Regions from separate parts of the Homo sapiens genome. Here regions 2 and 3 are each linked to region 1. Evidence: promoter capture Hi-C in 16 types of primary human blood cells and fetal thymus (Javierre and others, 2016). All regions are on one chromosome and are shown on one strand. The core of a region is centred on a gene start or on the middle of the fragment in contact, and the rest is flanking DNA. Distances in the headings are between cores, read along the strand shown. Region 1 holds the start of PADI3 (peptidyl arginine deiminase 3). Region 2 overlaps CROCC (ciliary rootlet coiled-coil, rootletin). Region 3 overlaps CROCC (ciliary rootlet coiled-coil, rootletin).

The links. The method cuts DNA at HindIII sites, captures the fragments that hold promoters and counts their contacts. A CHiCAGO score of 5 or more calls a contact.
Region 2: a fragment that was not itself captured here is called in contact with the fragment with the promoter of PADI3 in region 1 in 1 of 17 cell types (neutrophils); the score reaches 11.1 in neutrophils.
Region 3: a fragment that was not itself captured here is called in contact with the fragment with the promoter of PADI3 in region 1 in 2 of 17 cell types (neutrophils and M0 macrophages); the score reaches 14.4 in neutrophils.

The regions. Positions count from the first base shown.
Region 1 is chr1:17,247,078-17,251,695 of GRCh38, forward strand. It overlaps PADI3 (peptidyl arginine deiminase 3), which reads left to right and starts at 2,021. Exons shown (of 16, transcript NM_016233.2): 1 at 2,021-2,152. The coding sequence starts at 2,061. The HindIII fragment of the contact is 2,587 bases long and covers 1-2,285 here.
Region 2 is chr1:16,923,127-16,927,744 of GRCh38, forward strand. CROCC (ciliary rootlet coiled-coil, rootletin) reads left to right here. Exons shown (of 37, transcript NM_014675.5): 3 at 1,199-1,353. Among named protein-coding and RNA genes, the nearest start is that of CROCC, 3.5 kb to the left of the region's middle. RefSeq lists enhancers at 1-535, 719-1,329, 3,159-3,769. The HindIII fragment of the contact is 6,523 bases long and covers 1-4,618 here.
Region 3 is chr1:16,968,174-16,972,791 of GRCh38, forward strand. CROCC (ciliary rootlet coiled-coil, rootletin) reads left to right here. Exons shown (of 37, transcript NM_014675.5): 31 at 30-245; 32 at 943-1,167; 33 at 1,612-1,761; 34 at 2,080-2,280; 35 at 2,463-2,594; 36 at 3,292-3,474; 37 at 4,187-4,618. The coding sequence ends at 4,273. Among named protein-coding and RNA genes, the nearest start is that of MFAP2, 10 kb to the right of the region's middle. RefSeq lists an enhancer at 3,865-4,618. The HindIII fragment of the contact is 457 bases long and covers 2,019-2,475 here.

The DNA.
Region 1 (4,618 bases), core at 771-3,270:
CCAGGGAAAGCCCCTACTTTCTGCATCTATTCCCCATCTGTGCTCACAAGAAGGCTAGGGAGACTAAGGCTTCCTCCTGAGCTCGAACTCTTACCCAGGGCTCCCAAGGCTGACTCAGCCATCAAGCCATTCCACAGCTGAAAAAAGTGAAGCTGTCCCTTGACCCAGAAGCCCAGCAGTTCTCCTTGAAAAGAACATCTTTCCCAAAAACTGAGACATGGGAATGACAATCTCAGGGTCCTGTTGAGGCCCTTGAACTGGTGCAGATGTCCCAGCTGGAGATGCTGGGGAGCGGGTCCTGGTCCCCATCCTGTCTCAGGCTGTCAGCACTGCCAGGGAGAAGGGAGGAAACCTCTATTCAGCACCTCCTGAGCCTCCGCCAGGCAGGGTGCGTCTTCACTATTATCTCCGCCAGGGCCAGTGATTAGCTGCATTTTCTACAGATGAGGAAACCGAGTCTCCAAGAGGGGGGACACTGACACCCAAGGCCCTATAGTGGGTGCACGGTGGAGCCTGCCTCTGAACCCAAGACTTCTCTCCCCAGAGCCCTTGCTCCTGCTCTTCCAGGAGCCTGAATGCCCCTCTGACTTCGGTTTCCCACCTGACGACTGAGCTTTCCTACTCTGACATGCCAAGCTCCCCCTGGCTGGAGAGAGTTCTCACCCTCATCATTTACCGCTTTCAGAGGTTTTTGGGACCTAATAACAGCAACAATAGTAATACAATAACGCCAAGCTCCATACCAGAGCTCTACCAACGCTGGCCCCTGAGGCCTCACAGCAACCATTTTTCAGACGAGAAAAGTGAGGCACGAACAATTAAGAAAGTTGCCCGGCCGGGCATGGTGGCTCACGCCTGTAATCCCAGTACTTTGGGAGGCCAAGTCGGGTGGATCAAGAGGTCAGGAGATCGAGACCATCCTGACTAACACGGTGAAACCCCGCCTCTATTAAAAATACAAAAAATTAGCCGGGAGCCGTGGCAGGCGCCTGTAGTCCCAGCTACTCGGGAGGCTGAGGCAGGAGAATGGCGTGAACCCGGGAAGTGGAGCTTGCAGTGAGCCGAGATCACGCCACTGCACTCTAGCCTGGGTGACAGAGCGAAACTCTGTCTCAAAAAAAAAAAAAAAAAGAAACTTGCCCAAGGTCGCCCATCCAGGAAGCAGCTGAGGCAGGGCTGAAACCCAGGTCTGGCTCTAAAATCCATTAAAAAAAAAAAGTTGGTGTTTCTCAAAGGGCACCAAAATGCTTTGGGGGTGCTTATTAAAAAATCCAGAGGGCCGGGTGCTGTGGCTCATGCCTGTAATCCCAGCACTTTGGGAGGCCGAGGTAGGTGGATCACCTGAGGTCTGGAGTTCAAGACCAGCCTGACCAACATGGAAAAACCCCGTCTCTACTAAAAATACAAAATTAGCCGGAAGTGGTGGCACACGCCTATAATCCCAGCTACTCGGGAGGCTGAGGCAGGAGAATTGCTTGAACCTGGGAGGCGAAGGTTGCGGTGAGCCGAGATCGCACCATTGCATTCCAGCCTGGGCAACAAGAGTGAAACTCCGTCTCAAAAAAAAAAAAAAAAATCCAGAGGCCAGGCTGCACCCCTAACCTGCTGGATCAGAGTGGACAACAGACCTGGGAATCCGCATTTTCACCAGCTTCCCCAGCAGAGTAAGAAAGCTCCCCATTATAGTCTCTGAAAATGCAGAAAATGGAGGTGAGGAAGCAAGAAGCGTCCGAGATCAATATCATATATCTCTGCACCCCCTCAACAGCACCTGCCCCCAACAGTTCCTGGTGCCTAGCCAGGTACCTGTGGGGACTTGCTTCCCAAGAAATTAACTTCCTGGGTGCCGGGGTCGGGACAACAGGTTCGTATACAAATACTGGGTCCCTTCCAGCCAATCCTGAGCTCTCAGCTCTGGGAAGGGGCTGGGCTTTCATGACTGGAGCCAATGAATTGGCACCCTGGGCTGGAGGGGTGGGGCCAGGGGCTTTTAAACCTCATCCTAAGGGGCCTCAGGGGCAGTGTTGGGGTTGGCGGCCACAGCTAAGTCCAACACCAGCATGTCGCTGCAGAGAATCGTGCGTGTGTCCCTGGAGCATCCCACCAGCGCGGTGTGTGTGGCTGGCGTGGAGACCCTCGTGGACATTTATGGGTAAGAGTCAGAGGCCTAGTGGTTTGCAGGCCCTTGGTGCTGATGCCCTTGGACCTTCCTCCCTGCAGGCTGGGCAGGGCTTCTTCAGGGCCCACTCCCCAGCCTTGGCCTCGGAACAGCAGCCAATCAGGGAAGCTTGGGTCCTCCTCTTGCTCTACTGAGTTTCCTGAAGACCTTAGCCAGGGAATTTGAAGTTTGGGAGGCTGAGCCAGGTAGAAGAGGCTTCAGTGACTGAGCTCCAGACCGGGGGCTTGGAGGGGGCTGGTGCCGCGAAGAGATGGCACTTTTCTATGTCCAAGGGATGCTGCAGGTTGGGCTGAGGATCTGTCTGGGGCACACAAGAATAGGAACAGGCAGATATCCCCAGCCCCATCCTGAGCCTATGAGCCTAGAAACAGAGCATGAATCATTTTTAAAAAATAAGTTAATACATAGCACTTACCATGTGCCAGGCACTATTCTAAGAGCTTCACAAGTCTCTTGAGTTAAGTTTTGAACTTTAATCTTGAATTTAACCCTTACAACAACCCTGTGAGCTAGGCTTATTATTAGCATCATCTCATCAGACAAATGAGAAAACCGAGGCAGAGAGGGCAAGCCATTTGCTCAAGTCACACAGTTACTAAGTGGCAAAGCCAGGGTTTAAACCCGCTTGTGGTCTTACTCAGGAGTCTTATGGTTTTAGCTGCTCTGATACTTGGAAAATAAAGATTTCCAACCTGGTTTCCTCTAGACACTCAATGCCCATGCATTATGCTCCTACTGTGTGCCAGGTCATGCCTTTGAGGCCCATGGTAGAGGGAGGTAAGGCCTTATCTTCTCTCTCTTAGGAAGAAAAGAGGGTTAGGGTAGGGTTTTAAGAGCTGGGCTCTGGGGACCACCAGGGAGCTGGCTTCTTAGGCTTTTGGGGAGAATCCAGGGTCCTGGCTTGGAGGTAATCAGGATACTGGGAGGGGAGGGTGCAGAACTGTGGGACAGCTCTCACCTCTCAAGTCTCCCAGCCCTCTCCTCAGGCCAGGTTTCTCAACCTCAGCACTGCTGTCACGATACCTCTTTGTCATGGGGGCCACCCTGTGCACTGTAGGATGGAGAGCAGCATTCTGGGCCTCTCTTTGCTAGATACCAGCAGCACACTCCCGAGTTGTGACAACCAAAAATGTCCCCAGACATTGCCAAATGTGCCCTGGGGTGGGAAGAAAATAGCCCACCCATTGAGAACGAGTCTCCAAGACTAAGACTCGAAAAATCAGGGCGAACTTAGTCGGGAGCAGCGATGGGGTTGATCCAGGGCATTGGATGAGAGGGGGTGAGGAGCTGGTCATGGGAGGGAACCAAGTCGGGAGCAGAGCCAGCCCAGGAAATAAATCCTGGTATTGGTGGGTGGGCAGTAGGAGGAGGAAGGGGATTCAGTGGTTCTTGAAGGAAGGGGCAGCCACGGAGGCTGTGCCAAGGAGGTAATGAGGAAGGAGGGGTATCTGCCACTTGGCACCACTGCCTGCCTGCCATGGGGTGACTGGGCTGCGTGCCATGGGGTGACTCACCTGCCCCTGCTGCCTCGTGCCCGTTGGGCAGATGTGTCTCCGGTTTGACCTGTCCCAGGAAGCCTGGGCCTGGCTCCTCCCCCGCAGAGCTTCCTTAGAGGATAGAGGATGGATTGGGGCAATAAGAGATAAAGGCCATAGCTTCCTGGAGTCACCTGAGCCACACTGGAGGTTTGCAGAGAAGGCCATCGGTGGGACAGCCACAGGGTGGGGGATGGAAGCTCTGATACCTTCAAATGAGGGATTCTTGGGCCCTGGTGGCCAAACCCCCCAGGGGTGGGAGTGGAGAGCTCCTAGTTCGTTCATTCACATATTCTTCAAGTATTTCTTTTGGGTCTAGTGTGTGTACCATTCAGAGCCTTGAAGGATGAGCACAGGCTCTGGGGACACATACAGGGGAGAACAAGCAGCTCCTCCTCTCTGAGAAGCCAGCAGAGGCTGGACAACCTTCTTACAAGGGTGCCACAGAAAGGACTCCTTTCTGGGAAGGGGAGCAGGACTGAGTTAGTTCTGAGGTCCCTCCCGGCTTGGAGGTGCCATGATGTAACAATCCTGGGTCCTCAGCCTGCGGGCCAACAAGAGAAAGGGCAGTAGGTGTTGTGGCTCAGTCCTGGCTCTGCAACTTCCCAGCTCTCTGACCGTGGGAAACTCCTTTAACTTCTCTGAGTCTCTGTTTCCTCACCTGTTGCCTGGGGATGATAATAATATCAGCAATGGCACTGAATGCCACTCCCCAGCAGTGCCTGTAAGCGCTTTCCATATGTTAACTAATTCTCACAAAATTCTCAAGTGGGCACTGTCATCATCGTCATTTTATAGATAAGAAAACAAAGGCACAGAGAGGTTAAACAACTTGTCCAAGGTCACATGGCCAGTGAGTGGCAGAGCCAGGATGTAACCCAGTTTGGCCTTACTTCAAAGGGCA
Region 2 (4,618 bases), core at 792-3,291, 320 kb before region 1:
GAGGGCAGCTCAGCTCAGACCAGGGTTTTGCGGAAGTCTGAGTGGATGGCGCCGTCCATCCGTTTCCCACGTGGGCAGGAAGGCGGATGGTCCCTGCTCCTCTCAGTGGGTGGCGCACACGGTGTAGTTATGTGGCTTGAGGATCTGGGAAAGGCACACTCAGTTGCAGCTGGTGTGCTGGCGTGTGGCGTTTTGGTGCTCTAACCATTGTCTGTGTTCAACTCCCAAGCTACAGACGGGCCCCCTCCTTGGGAGCGCCAGGGATGTTGGCGCCCTGGAGCCCCAGACAGGGAGAGACTCAGAGGGCCCTCACCCTGACACCTGGGGTGTATGTCCAGTTCTCCCAGGGTAGAAGGGGAACCCACAGGAGGTGGACAACCCCGCTTCTCCCGCTGGCCTTTCTTTCCCTCTTCTCTCTTTCTCCTTCTCCTCACAACCTGACCTATGCTATGCTCTCCTGAGCCCTAGCCTTTAAAGTTCCATGAAGCCCTTCTCTTGAGCGAGGCTTTGATGCTTTTCTGGGAGGATCTGGTTACTACTATTCTACCTTTTTTTTTTTTTTTTTTTTTTTTGAGACAGAGTCTCGCTGTGTTGCCCAGGCTGGAGTGCAGTGGCGCAATCTCAGCTCACTGCAACCTCCACCTCCCCGGTTCAAGTGATTCTGCTGTCTCAGCCTCCCAAGTAGCTGGGACTACAGGCATACACCACCATGCCCAGCTAATTTTTGTATTTTTAGTAGAGACAGGGCTTCGCCGTGTTGGCCAGGCTAGTCTCAAACTCCTGACCTCAGGTGATCCTCCTATCTCGACTCCCAAAGTGCTGGGATTACAGGCGTGAGTCCGTGCCCGCCCCACCCATATTACAGATAAGTAAATCTGAGGCCCCGGAGAAGAAGACTAATTGGAAAAGGAGGGAGCAAGAACTCAGGGGTCTCCTGGCTCCTAGACTGAGTGTCTCTCCTGCACCTCCCAAACCTGCTGGGCCACACTTTAGCTGGAGTTGTGTTCACTTTACGTCCAGCTTTGTATCCCCTCCTTGCCTTCCTCCCTGTTCTCAGCTCTGTTTGCAGGCCTGGTGCTGCAGCCATTCCCATCTGGACTCCTCCCAGGGGCCTGGATGGTTTTCTTGCCCTCCCTGTTGGGGGGAGGATGTCCCACTGGACCCAGAAGCCAACCATGTGCCCACTGTCCCTTGCCAGTCCTGCTGCCGGCCACAGAGATGGCATCGCTGCTGTCGCTGCAGGAGGAGAACCAGCTGCTGCAGCAGGAGCTGTCCCGCGTGGAGGACCTGCTGGCCCAGAGCCGTGCCGAGCGCGATGAGCTCGCCATTAAGTACAATGCGGTCAGCGAGAGGGTGGGTGCCGCCCAGGTGGTGGACTAGGCCAGGGTTCCCCTCGTTCAAGGGCAGGGAGGCATCTAGACCAGGCCCACACACGGGGCAAAAGATGGGCCCTGGAGTCAGGTTGGCCTGGGCTTGGATTGAGGCTCTGCCACCTTGAGTGGCGTTGAGCAAATCACTATGCTCTTTAAGCCTGTTTTCTGTAGTGGGGATTGTAATGGGACGTGGAATTGTAGGAATCAAGGAGATAATAGAATAAAGTGCCTGGCACCAGGGGTATTTTGTTCCCATCTGTCCCAGGCCTGTTAGGGGTGTGGGACACGGAGAATGAGATCCCTAAAGATTCCTGCCCCTTGAGTTTCTGGGCATCTCCCATTGCCACGGGCCTTGGGGTTGAGGCGGTGGCTGGATGCTGGCTCGAGGCTGGTGTGGGCACCCGCGGTGTTCTGCAGCCCATCTGGGGCAGCCACAAGACCTGCCGCCACTGCCTATTGGAATGAGTTCCAGGCAGGGAAGGAAGGAGAAGCAGGCCTGTCTTCATGTCCAGGCAGGATTCACATCACCCGTGCTGCAGGCTTGTGGGGGTCCCAGGGTGTGGGGCGGGAGCTGGGTGTGAGCCGGTGCGAGGGGTGCGGGATGCTCTTGATGCACTGTCTGCTTTGGGCCTCCGGGTGGCCGGGAGGTGGCCCTGGGAAGTTGGTGGTGGCTGAAGATTGGTAAGGGACACTCGCAGCTGGGACAGAGTGTATGTGTGCAGATGAGAGGCATGCAGGTGGCAATAACGTATTAACAGTAGCTACTGTTTATTGAGTGCCTACTATGTGCCAGGCGCGTGCTGAGTGTTTCACATTTAATACACCAAGGTCGGGACCATTATGATGCCCATGTAACAGAGGAGAAAACAGAGGCTCAGGGAGGGGAAGCACCATGCTGGGGGCACACAGCCAGTTAAAGTTAGACACCAGGTCTTCCAACTCCCAGCCCAGGGCTCTGTTTGGTTTCTAAACTAACCCAGTCTAGAAACAAAGTTCTGAAGTTTCATTTCCTGTGTATGGGAAGAGACACTGGGCTAGGGATTTCAGGGCACAGCTGGCCCCCACAAAGTTGGAAGGGACCCAGAGAGGCAGGGGCTGGCCCAGGGTCCCCTGTGTGGTAGTGGCAGAGCTAGGGTTGGCATGGGACCCCTGAGCTGGACTTGTCCAGGCTGGAGCCCGCATTGGCAGGAGGGTGTGTGTTCCTGTGTATGACTGTGGGGTGTGCCCGTGTCCTGGGATTTGCCTGGCTGGACAAACCCACGACTAGTTGGGACTTGTAGAGGAGCAGAGTAGGCGGCCCGCAGTGGCCCCTGGCATGAGGACAGTGGAGAGCTCGTTTCCCCAGGGTCTGCAGCGGGTGTGTAGGGCACGCTGGCCCCAGTCATGAATTGTGGGTGGTGATGGGGCCCTGAGCCAGGCACCCCTTTCTTTTGGTCCATGCATGGCACAGTGCCACACCCCCAGGGCCGCCTCTTAAATGCCACCTTCTGAAGCTAGCCCTGCCCCCAGGTTGGCAGGGAAGGGAAGAGGTGGGAGGTAGCAGGTTCCTCCTCTGCTGGGACACAGCTGCTGGGGCTGGGACTGCAGCACAGGGGGTCTGGGTTAGTCTAGAAAGCTCCCTCCTGTGGTTAGTGGGGGCCCAAATGGCACGCAGAGGGCGCCCGCTGCTTCAGTTGTCCTCTATCCACCATGGTTTGAATGAGGCCCCACCTGGAGGCAGGGGTGGAACAGGAATGACCTCAAAGGCCTTTCCTGGAGGGTGGGTCCCCAGAGAACTTCAGAGCCTAGAGATCACCTCATCACAGATAGGGAAAGTAAGTCCGGGAGAGGGGCATGATAGGCCCAAGGTCAGTGGTGGTCCTGGGATGAGACCCTTGGTCCAGGGCTCTGCAGTTGGGCAACATTCTCTTTCCCTGCCACCCCCTTGTCCCCATGGCCACAGGTGGCAGTGCCTGCCCCTGTGGCCCTCACTGGCATGTTGGGCTGGGTTGGTGGGCAGTCAGCGAGATTGTTCTGATCTTTCCAACCCTGCAGCACCCCTGGCATGGGGAGCGGAGGGAGGGTCAGGTCTGTGTCCTGTTAACTGCATGTCCTGCAGGGAAACTGAGGCACTCCCAGAGGCCACCTCCCAGCCGAGAGAGAGGACCTCAGGGCCCCCATGGGGGTCCCCCCTTCTTGCTGTCCCTGAGAAGCAGATGTAGGCGCAGCTGGGAATGGAAAGGAGGGAGTGGTCACGCCTCCCTTGGCTCCAGAGGACAGACCCCCTGGGCTCCCTCGTGTCCATAGCAACCTGGAAAGAGTAAATTGAATGGCGGTCTGAGGGCAGCAGTTGCTAGGGGAGACAGTCAACTTCTTTCATCTCTGGCTTAGTGGCAGCCTCCTTCCCTTTTGAATTGCAAGTAAAATTGAAAGGCTGTTTTGCTCACGGTGAAGTTTGTGGAAAGGGGTGAGGTGTGGCCGAGAGGGCCCTGGCTCTGGTTCTGAGCACTGGAGAAGGGGGAGGAGAACCCAGCAACGGCCTGAACCCCTCTGTGTCCCAGAGGCAAACAGCACCTGCTTCACACAGATATGCAGTGTGTACACGACATGGGCTACACTGGGCCCCACACAGACACACAGATGCACAAAACATTCCACAAACAACATAGTGAGACCCTAAAACCAGGCCACACAGAAACACTCCAATTCACAGAATATGCACAGTGTTAGCCGCACACACAGCCAGATGCCACACAACCCCACACAGGCACAGAACAGTCCCCCCACCACCGGGGACCTATAACAACCATATGCAGATGACACAGCACGCTATCTCCCACCTCATGGGTGCACACGGACAGGAAAAGCATACAGTTCAACACAGCCACCAATCGGCCCACAAAGGTATGCCCAGATGCACAAAGTGTGTATCACACATACCAGGGAGCCCAGGCACACCCCCCAGACCCACCCACATGCGGTTGTACACTTGCCTCACCGACACACAGACATATACCCTGATACACACAGCCAGGCCCAACACCCGCGCCACAACATAGACCTTCAGCCACAGATGCCGCCTTAGCCGTTCACGGGAAGGCTCAGATGCACCAAACAGTCGACGTGAACTCAGCACCCACACACTACACACACAGTGTCCTGCGTGGAGACAAATGACAAAATACACCCCACTCGCACCTAGTGAGAGCCACCAACATCAGTGCACAGCCTGTGTGGCTGCCTCAGGCCACCGCCACCACACACAG
Region 3 (4,618 bases), core at 997-3,496, 280 kb before region 1:
TCTGGGCCTGAGCCCCATGCCACCTGCAGGAGAAGATCAGCAAGATGAAGGCCAATGAGACAAAGCTGGAGGGCGACAAGCGGCGCCTGAAGGAGGTTCTGGACGCCTCCGAGAGCCGCACTGTCAAGCTGGAGCTGCAGCGGCGCTCGCTTGAGGGGGAGCTGCAGCGCAGCCGCCTGGGCCTCAGTGACCGCGAGGCCCAAGCCCAGGCCCTCCAGGATCGGGTGGATTCCCTGCAGAGACAGGTGGGCCCCTCCCCAAATCACAGCCACAGTGTTCACATGCCCTGTGCCAAGAGCTTTGTAGGCACTACGCAGTCCCCCAACAACCCTGTGAGGCAAGTATTACCCACATCCCCATTTCACAGATGGACAAATGGAGGCTGAGAGGTGATGTCATTGTCTAAGATCCCATAGCTAGTAAGAGGCAGAGCCAAAATTAGAATTCAGGACTATTTGATGACAGCATCTGCATACATAGGAGTCATCTGGGACAAGTTAGAGATGTAGGTTTCACTCATTTCCCTTTTTGCCTTGACTGCTAGGAAGCTCAGCTCTAACTGGAATGTTAAATAATACGGCTAGCCTTGCCTGAACACCCAACAAGGTCAAAAATAAAAAAATTTTAGGGTCGTGGTGGTTTCCCTTTCTCTTCCACAGCAGAGAGGAGAGAGGAGTGAGGACAGGGAGGAGACCAGGGAGTCTGAGACAACTAGGTTGATGGCACTCTGGGCACTAGTAGTTAGCCAGCAATGGGATGGGGCCCAGGTGGCAGTAGGCTGAGCCAGCAGGAGTGCTTAGGAACACTGGGTCTCAATGATGGAGGCCCAGAGAGAAGTGGGAAGGGTGTGGATTGGGCATGCCAGGTGGAGGTCACAGTGGGAGCAGAGGTATAGAGGCCAGATGGGAACAGCCCCGATTGTTCTGGCTGTCCTCCTGCCAGGTGGCCGACAGCGAGGTGAAGGCAGGGACCCTGCAGCTGACCGTGGAGCGGCTGAATGGGGCCCTGGCTAAGGTGGAGGAAAGCGAGGGGGCCCTGCGGGACAAGGTGCGGGGCCTGACAGAGGCCCTGGCCCAGAGCAGTGCCAGCCTCAACAGCACCCGGGACAAGAACCTGCATCTGCAGAAGGCTCTGACCGCCTGTGAACATGACCGCCAAGTACTCCAGGTCTCGGGCCCAGGGTCTGGCTGGGGTGGGCCCAGTGAGAGAGTCAGCCAGTAAGAGCAGGCTTGGAGGGGGGCCCTGGTAGAGAGCCAGCCAATGGGGCAGTCAGTTGGAGCCAATGAGAGCAGGCTTTGAAGGGAGGGCGTGGGCCCAGTAGACCATCAGCCAAGGAGAAGAGGCTCTGGGTATGTCCCGTAAGAAGACAAGGCTACTGGTATAGACTTGGGGGGACCCAGGGGCAGGGTTTATTGGGGAGAGTTGGGGTCTGAGTGGGTCCCACCTTATGCAGGTCAGTGGATAGGCCGTGGATGGGTTTGGTGTGCACCCCACCCTCCAGGTGAGATGACTGCCTGTTTTATGCTCTGTGGACCTGTCCAGAGGTACAGAATAGAGAGGACTCCTTAGGGCTCCCAGGCCAGCCAGGCACCATCAGCCCCTGTCCCCCAGGAACGGCTGGATGCCGCCCGGCAGGCATTATCTGAGGCACGGAAGCAGAGCAGCTCCCTGGGCGAGCAGGTGCAGACGTTGCGAGGCGAGGTGGCTGACCTGGAACTGCAGCGGGTGGAGGCCGAGGGCCAGCTACAACAGCTACGGGAGGTGAGGGCCAGGGTGTGCCCCCTCTGTCCCCAAGACTGTGAGGCCCTAGGATAGGGTGGGGACGTTCCCACCCATCTCAACCTCATCCCAAACCCTGGTGCAGCCTCCAGTAAGGAAACATGGTTCATTCAGAGCATAGTCCTGTTATACAGATGGAGAAACAGACTGAGAGAGACAGGTTTGGCTTCAGGTGACAATTCTCTGATGTGGGCCTCACCGTCGCCTGCTCTGTGAGTGGGCCAGCCTCATTGTCCCCAAGCTTCAGATAAGTATGCTCAGGCCCAGAGGGATTCGGGGCCTGCCTGGCTTCTGTTGCAGGTGCTGCGGCAGCGGCAGGAGGGTGAGGCTGCAGCCCTGAACACCGTCCAGAAGCTGCAAGACGAGCGGCGGCTGCTGCAGGAGCGCCTGGGAAGCCTGCAGCGCGCCCTGGCTCAGCTGGAAGCTGAGAAGCGGGAGGTGGAGCGCTCAGCCCTGCGGCTGGAGAAGGACCGTGTAGCCCTCAGGAGGACGCTGGACAAGGTAGGCTGCTCCCCAGGCTCTCCCCTCACTTCCTCTGGGGCCTAACCGTGGTGGATCCCACTGCACATCCCCAGGGTCTGCTACCTCTGGTGGGGTTAGGTTATTCCATCAGGGTTCAGGAACCTGAGCCCCCTCAGTAAGCTCCTCCTGGCACCCTGATCTCCTGTGGCTCTCCTGCCTAGGTGGAGCGGGAGAAGCTTCGTAGCCATGAGGACACAGTGCGGCTGAGCGCAGAGAAGGGCCGCCTGGACCGCACCCTCACGGGGGCTGAGCTGGAGCTGGCAGAGGCGCAGAGGCAGATCCAGCAGCTGGAGGTCTGACCCCACCCAGTCCGGGACCCCAACTTCATCCCTAGTATGAGTGCTCAGCAATTCCAGTGGAGCTGATGGCCCAGCCAGCCCAGGGCCCATAACCCCCTCCCCCAGGAGCCCTGAGCCTTCCAGTGACCCAGCGGGCCATGGAGGGATGGGTTCTCCCTAAGGTGTACAGAAAAGACACGAAAGGCCTGTTTGCACGTGAGCCTGTGGGTTCATGTACGTTGTGGCCATGCAGCAGTGTGAGAATCCATGTGACGATTCTTGTGTATGGAGCATGAATCTTGTGCATGGTGTGGCGTGTCTAGGTATTATGAATATGTGTTTGTGTACAGATGTTTTCATGCATGGGGGAGTTGGGCCTTTGCACATACACATGCACCTGTGTGAGTCCAGATAGGTATTTACATGCTTGCCTTTGTGCCTGTGTGTATGATGTCTGAGTGTGTGTGTGTGTGTGTGTGTGTGTGTGTGTGTGTGTGTGTCCATGCACCTGCCTGAGTGGGGGTCATTGGGTGCACTCATCCTGGGCTCGCAGGCTCACTGTCAGGGCCAGCAGGATGGAAGACACACAAGGATCTCTCCTGCCTTCCCCCTCTGCACTGGCCGTGTCCCAGGGAGGTACCTGACAACCCGTCACACATGCACACACACACTCACACTGGGCCAGAACGCGGACCACAGCCCCTCCCTGCAGGCGCAGGTGGTGGTGCTGGAGCAGAGCCACAGCCCGGCCCAGCTGGAGGTGGATGCGCAGCAGCAGCAGCTGGAGCTGCAGCAGGAGGTGGAGCGGCTGCGCAGCGCCCAGGCGCAGACTGAGCGCACCCTGGAGGCTCGGGAGCGGGCCCACCGCCAGAGGGTGCGTGGGCTGGAGGAGCAGGTGTGCAGGCCCCCTTAGAAGGCTGGGCCAGGATGGATGTGTGGGGCTGCAGAAAGAGGAGAGACCCAATCAAGACCTTGTGGGTATAGGCAGTCGATGGCTCCCGTAACCGAAAAGGGTGGGGTTGGCTCTGCGCTGGTGTCAGCCAAGACCAGACCGGGGCCACGGGATGCTCCTGGGCCCCAGGCCTCCTGCCATGGCTCTGTTCCCCCTGGCTCCATGCTCAGGGTAGCCTTCTCCCTGGGTGGCCAGGTGGCCTCAGCAGCTCCAGCCTCAGGTTCTCCCAGCAATCTGTCATCTCAGAAGAGAGCAGGGGCAGAAGTCCTAAGGCTGTCCCTCACTGGCCCGCTCAGATCACATACCCCTTCCTGACCATGCCTGAGCCAGCCTTGTCGGCCGGGCAAGGCTTCTCTGCTAGGCCGGGCTGGGTCACATGTCCACCCCTTGGGTCTGGGCTGAAGCCACGCCCACCCAAGTGATGATGGGGATAAAGAATGGGGGTGGAGTTGCCCTCAAAGGTGCCCAACAGTCAGAAGACGCCTGACTCTGCTATAAGGAACAAAATGAGAAAGGCAGGACAGCCCCTGGCTCTCAGTGAGACCAGACCTTTCCTGAAACTGTGGCACTGTGTCCCTCCGGGTTCCCTGCTGCCTCCCTTTCTCTGAAGCCAGGCTGAGGACCTGGCTGGCCTTACCTTCCCTTTCTTCCCCAGGTGTCCACACTGAAGGGCCAGCTGCAGCAGGAGCTTCGAAGGAGCTCAGCACCCTTCTCCCCACCCTCCGGCCCCCCAGAGAAATGAGCTCCTGCTGGCATCTGGAGAACACCCCTGTGCCTGGGACAGGGGAGGACCCTTCTTTTGGACAGCCCCCCCACCCAGAGCCCGGTCCCTTGGGGGCCTCAAGCTGGGGTGGGATGAGGAGGCGCTCTGCTGGCAGTGCTGAGGACGGGTACTCCAGCTCCAGGCCTGGAGAGGCTTCCCAGCAACACCTGCAGTCCAGCCCCCCTCTTCTAGGATGAGCCACTGTAGATCATTAAAGTTCCTCCTTGAGAGGCTGAGCCGTAGCCAGGATTGGGGAGAGCCCTTGTCTCTGGTCAGCCCTGGAGCATGGGATCGTGGGAAAGAGGAGGGGGACCAGGCCCAGGG